Linked DNA regions of Homo sapiens: region 2 is linked to region 1. Evidence: promoter capture Hi-C in 16 types of primary human blood cells and fetal thymus (Javierre and others, 2016). All regions are on one chromosome and are shown on one strand. The core of a region is centred on a gene start or on the middle of the fragment in contact, and the rest is flanking DNA. Distances in the headings are between cores, read along the strand shown. Region 1 holds the start of UBA2 (ubiquitin like modifier activating enzyme 2). Region 2 overlaps LSM14A (LSM14A mRNA processing body assembly factor).

Region 1 (3,025 bases), core at 316-2,815:
GGCCAGACCCTGTCTCAAAAAATACTAAAGTATTTCTCTTTCAATCGAATTACTCTTTCAAGTACAAAATATTAAATTTAACTATGCCCTGTTCTTTTTCTTTGTTTTTTGAGACAGGGTCTCCCTCTGTTGCCCAGGCTGGAGTGCAGTGGTGCAAACACAGCTCACTGCAGCCTCGACCTCCCAGGCTCAAGCGATCCTCCTGACACAGCCTCCCGGGTAGCTGGGACCACAGGCGCACACCACCACGCCCCGCTAATTTTCTTTTTTTGTAGAGACGGGGTTTCTCTATGTTGCCCAGGTTCTGTTCTTTTTCTTAAATGATACATGGCAAACGTTTATTGAATTTTTGCTGCCTCCCTTAATTCAAGCCTTCATCCATACACAATTTCATTTACTATTAACCTGAGAACTGTGAAAGGAAACTTTTACACATGGTTAAAAAAGTATCATGTTTTAAGTTTTATCTAATTTTTGCTTAAATATATAATACATAAAGGAAAGAAACAATGACTCAGTCGGCCACCCGTACTTTTTTGTTCATTCCATGTTTCCACTAGCCCTTAAGACACTTTAAACTCACACCGAAGGGCCAGTAACATCTCCAATCTCTAAAAAGTTTGCATTAGTAGAAATAACGATTCAAAATAGCACTGGCTTGTCAACGTACACCAATGCAAAAGGCACAGTCCTAACGTCTTTAATGAAACAAGCGAGTGTACCGTCTACTGTGAGAGCAATGACAGTCACGCAGCCTGCGGGAGCCCTGCCACTCGCTCCGTGACCCAGGGTAAGTTACTCAACCCCATTGCGTCTCCCTTTCCTCATCTGTTAAAAATAAAGCAGGGTGGAAATAGCGTTTGCACTCCTCGGGTGGTATGAAGATGGTGCGCGTTCCGTGTGTAAACCCGCTCGTGACCAGCGCTCGGGACGCGTTGGTCGCTATCATTGCCATCCTCCGCCCCGCGTCGTTACTTCGGAGTTACGACAGGGACCTCAAAATTAAAGTCACAACATCCGCGAGGGACTCAATCCTCTCCCGCATCTCCTAACAGCCGGGAATTTGTTTTGAAGGGAGGATAAGAGGCGGCTTCACGCCCACGAAGCGCCACACATTGGCGCTGCCGGGGAGGCGGGGGCCCGCGGCCTCCTCGGCGTCCGGAGCCGGCCCAGCGAGCGGAGGCCCGCCCCGTGCCCAAAGAACAGTCTCCTCCCGCGGGGGGGGCACAACCCGAGCCTCTCAGCCTGCCCCCGCTCCGCAACTCCGGTCCCGGGCTCCGGGCCCTGAGCCTCAGAGCCCCTGGAGCCCCGGAACCCCCGAATCCCAGCCCCCGCACCACAGCCCGCCATTCACGCGCGCGCGCCCGGCCCTCACCAGGTCGATGTGGGAGAAACCGGTGAGCACGAGATTCTTGAGGAGCTCGCAGCCGATGCCGCCCGCCCCCACCACCAGCACCCGGCCCCCGGCCACCGCCTCAGCCAGCTCCCGGGGCAGCCCCCGCGACAGTGCCATGGCGGGACAACCACGAGCCGCGGCGGAGGCGGAGGCGGGAGAACCGAGCCGCGGCCGGAAGCGGGTGGGGGAAGGGCGGCCTGGTTTCCGCTCCTGCGCACTACAGCCTCCGGCAGACACAGGCAGGGCACATCGCGCCGGGGTGTGCTGCAGCCCGCGGGGACCGGCAGGCTCTTGCAAAGGGCTGGCGACCTCCAGCTGAGACCGGCGGTGTTATTCCCACACCAGCATAGGCCCGCCATCAGACCTAAAAAGTCTAAGGGTCGCCTTCTAGCCTGGGGTTTCAACTCCCAGCCAAGACTTCCTTACAGGTTAGAAAACTGATGTCCCTATACGTAAAGAGCTCTTACAAATTAACAAGTGTCACCCCCAAAAAAATATAGGCAAAGGATGTGAACAGGAAACTCACAAAAAATTGGACAATATGATCAATAAGCGTATTAAAATGTAAACCATAAAAGAATCGCTTGAACCCTGGAGGTGGAGGTTGCAGTGAACCAAGATCGCACCACTTCACTCCAGGCTGGGTAACAGAGCAAGACTCCGTCTCAAAAAAGAAAAAAATGTAAACCATGCAAAATGGTAAGATTTTCACCTGCCGGGCGCGGTGGCTTACGCCTGTAATCCCAGCACTTTGGGAGGCCGAGGCGGGTGGATCACGAGGTCAGGAGTTCTGAAACCAGCCTGACTAACATGGTGAAACCCCCATCTCTACTAAAAATACAAAAATTAGCCGGGCGTGGTGGCGTGCGCCTGTAATCCCAGCTACTCGGGAGGCTGAGGCAGGAGAATCGTTTGAACCCAGGAGGCAGAGGTTGCAGTGAGCCGAGATCGCGCCACTGCACTCCAGCCTGGGCAACAGACTCCGTCTCAAAAAAACAAACAAACAAACAAACAAAAAAAAACACCGAAACAGCTGGGGGTGGTGGCACAAGCCTGTAGCCCCAGCTACTCAGGAGGCTGAGGCAGGAGAATTGCTTGAACCCAGGAGGCGGAGGTTGCACCACTGCACTCCAGCCTGAGCAATACAGCGAGACTCTGTCTCAAAAAAAAAAAAAAGTTTTTCACCTACTAAACTGGTAGAAAGAAAAAATAAGTAACACTTATCAAGGGATTGGGAAACAAGCACTCCAACACACTCCAGGTAAAGATTCCAAAGCAAAGCTTCTCTAGAGGGCGTGGTGGCTTGCACCTGTAGTCCCAGCTACTCAGGAGGCTGAGGCAGGAGGATCACTTAAGCCTGAGAGGTCGAGGCTGCAGTGAGCTATGCCCTTACCACTGCACTCCAGCCTGAGAGACAGAGCAAGACCCTGTCTCGAAAAAAAAGAAAAAAAAACCCTAAAATTGTGCACAACTTTTGACTCATTCATTCCAATTCTAGGAAACTGTCCTGTAGCAGTTATCATTGATTTAAAATATATATAAATTTAGTTACAGGGATGGCCATCATGGGAATAAAAATTGGAAAATACAAGTGGCTAAAAATTGTATAAAGCTTTTGATGTATATTTA
Region 2 (3,025 bases), core at 308-2,807, 230 kb after region 1:
ACAAAAACCAACACTGCATATTATAACATATGCAGAACAATGTGATTTTGCTTTTTTTTCCCCATTAAGCCTAATAATCTTACCTAAGAGTAGCTGTTATTGCCTTGGTTTGCAATATAAACCATATCTCAATAGCATGGTAGCACGGATCCTAGATTCTGAAGCAGGCTGCCTGGATCTGTTCAAATTGTGGCTCCATCTGAACTTCCTCACTTGTTAAAAGTGAGAATAATTATAGTACCAACCTCAGAGGGTATCTTATATGCACAGCACTTCTACAGAGTAGCCTTCAATGTTAGCTATGGTAATTGTTGTTGAAATTAGAAAATATTTCATAATAAATTCCTCAGCTGTTTCTTACCTTAGTTCTAATTTATGATACAAAGAGAAAAACCTAGATGAGAACATTATCCAGTAATTTCAGGTATCCCAGTAACTTGGAAATGATAAGCTACATGAACATTCAACTAGAGAGAAAAAAGCCAAGGCTAACCCTGTGCGGAGTTTACCTGTACTCCAAGACAAATTTACCATCAGTTACCTGAACAATAGCTGGGTCTTGAGGCAAAGAACACTGTGGTTTTGGTGGCTCACAAACAGTAAGGTCTTTAATGTCACTCCCACGGAATATAATGTATTCAAAGACTTCATCTCGAGGTGGTATTGGACGATCTGTCGGTCTGTCTTCTGTACCAAAGGATCGAACTGGCAAGAAAACAAAGGATATGAGATGTGTGACTACTCATCACATTCAGGTAGTACCCCAGATTCTAAATGTTGTATTTCAAGTACTAAGCAGTAGTTCTGAAATGTCTGAGAAAGTATTCATTAATCTATAGCTAAAAAAGTTTTTTTAAAGAGGAAAATAGAGTGGCTTTTGCCCGAAGTTAAATATATGCAATATAAAAGACTATCTGTATTATGAGGTTGTGTTCCTCTTATATTTTTATTTATTTGTATCTTTAGTGGTTGTAGTGGGGTGTTAAAATGTCCTTTCATTATTTATTTATTGATGAGACTGGGTCTCTGTCCCCTAGGCTGGAGTGCAGTGGTGTGGTCATGGCTTCCTGCAGCCTCAGCTTCCCGGGCTCAGGCGATCCTTCTATCTCAACCTCCCACGTAGCTGGGACCACAGGCATGTGCCACTAAGCCCAGCTAACTTTTTTTATTTTTTAGTAGAGATGAGGTCTTGCTATTTTGCACAGGCTGGTCTTGAACTCCTGGCCTCAAGTGATCTTCCTGCTTTAGCCTCTCAATGTGCTGGGATGAAAGGCCTAAGCCACTGTGCCTGGCTCACGGTTAACTTATTTTTAATGTCCTCATTCGACAAAATAAAAATTAGCAACCCATGTCTTTCTTGGGGAAGGAGTGGGAGACAAAGATTCCTCCAGTCTACAAAATCTCAAAGTTTGGGTATTGACCTTTGGGACACAGAGAGCAATGAAGGTATTAATAACATTTACCTTGCTGAGCAGTAAGTCCTCTAGAAGCCAAGTCAAGCAGCTGCCAGCTACTCAGCCCCATGGGACAGCTTGAAATACCCTAGTTACCTAAAATATCTACCATATAATTAAATCTGATTATTTTAACAATGAAGACAGCATTACTCAAAGTTAAACTGGGGACCACCTGCAACACAGTAAACTGGCTACGAATAAAGATTTCTACCGAATCTTTTTGCTGGGGACAGGGTCCAAAAATCTGCATTTTAAGCCAATTTCTGGCTAGGCACAGTGGCTCATGCCTGTAATCCCAGCACTATGGGAGGCCAAGGTGGGAGGACTGCTTGAGCCCAGGAGTTTGAGACCAGCCCTAGCAACACAGTGATGTTCTGTCTCTACAAAAAAATAAACATTTTTAAAAATTAGCCAGGTGTGGTAGTGCATGCCTGTAGTCCCAGCTATAAGGAGGCTGAGGTATGAGGATCGCTTGAGCCTGGGAGATTGAGGCTGTACTGAAGCGTGGCTGCACTGCAGCCTGGGTGACACAGCAAGACCCTATTTCAAAATAAGTAAATAAAATAACCAAATCCCCAAGTTTCTTATAAATACATAAGTTTCAGGTTCATTGTCCTGGGAGATTTCTGAAAATGTCTGCATCCATACAGAAGTTCCAAATAGAGAATATGAAACATCATATTTCATTTAAAGAGTACCCTAAAGGAAGTAAACCCCTTAACATTTCTATTTTTTTTCTTTTTTTTTGAGATGGAGTTTCATTCTGTTGCCCCAGCTGGAGTGCAGTGACGCAATCTTGGCTCACTGTAACCTCTGCCTCTTGGGTTCAAGCGACTCTCCTGCCTCAGCCTCCTGAGCAGCTGGGATTACAGGCGTGTGCCACCATGCGCAGCTAATTTTTGTATTTTTTTTTAGCGGAGATGGGGTTTCACTATGTTGGCCAGACTGGTCTAGAACTCCTGACCTCAAGTGATCCATCCGCTTCGGCTTCCCAAAGTGCTGGCATCACAGGCGTGAGCTACCGCGCCTGGCCCCCTTAGTATTTTTAATGCATACGCTTTTTTTTTTTTTTTTTTTTTTTTTTTTTTTTTTTGCAGAACTGATGCAGCGCCTCATGCCTGCAATCCCAGCACTTTGGGAGGCCAAGGTGGGCAGATCACTTGAGGTCAGGAGTTTGACACCGGCCTCAACAAAATGGTGAAACCCCATCTCTACTAAAAATACAAAAAATCATTAGCTGGGCATGTTGGCATGCACCTGTAGTCCTAGCTGCTCAGGTGGCTGAGGCGGGAGGATTGGCTGAACTCAAGAGGCAGAAGTTGCAGTGAGCCAAGATGGCGCTCCTGCACTCCAGCCTGGGTGACAGAATGACAATCTGACTCCAAAAAAAAAAAAAAAAAAAAAAACAACAAAAAGAATGTTATTTCAGTGTAAATAATGTCCTACACTCTTATTCTAAAAGTTCTTTCTAGTACTTATGAGACTTCCAGGAAAGACAGTGGCACAGGTAGTTTGGCAGAAGATCCTTCCCTAAAACTAAAGGAAAGAAACAAAAAGGAAGTTAAAAT

What was found. Contacts are between HindIII fragments. The CHiCAGO score rates a contact against its expected background, and 5 or more counts as called.
Region 2: a fragment that was not itself captured here is called in contact with the fragment with the promoter of UBA2 in region 1 in 1 of 17 cell types (naive CD4 T cells); the score reaches 5.1 in naive CD4 T cells.

What each region holds. Positions count from the first base shown.
Region 1 is chr19:34,426,921-34,429,945 of GRCh38, reverse strand. It overlaps UBA2 (ubiquitin like modifier activating enzyme 2), which reads right to left and starts at 1,565. Exons shown (of 17, transcript NM_005499.3): 1 at 1,376-1,565. The coding sequence starts at 1,513. LOC124904695 (a long non-coding RNA gene) reads left to right here and starts at 1,582. Exons shown (of 2, transcript XR_007067232.1): 1 at 1,582-1,824. RefSeq lists silencers at 1,068-1,227, 1,298-1,407, 1,438-1,677. The HindIII fragment of the contact is 4,339 bases long and covers 1-2,679 here.
Region 2 is chr19:34,192,158-34,195,182 of GRCh38, reverse strand. LSM14A (LSM14A mRNA processing body assembly factor) reads right to left here. Exons shown (of 10, transcript NM_015578.4): 2 at 542-705. Among named protein-coding and RNA genes, the nearest start is that of LSM14A, 21 kb to the right of the region's middle. The HindIII fragment of the contact is 3,862 bases long and covers 1-3,025 here.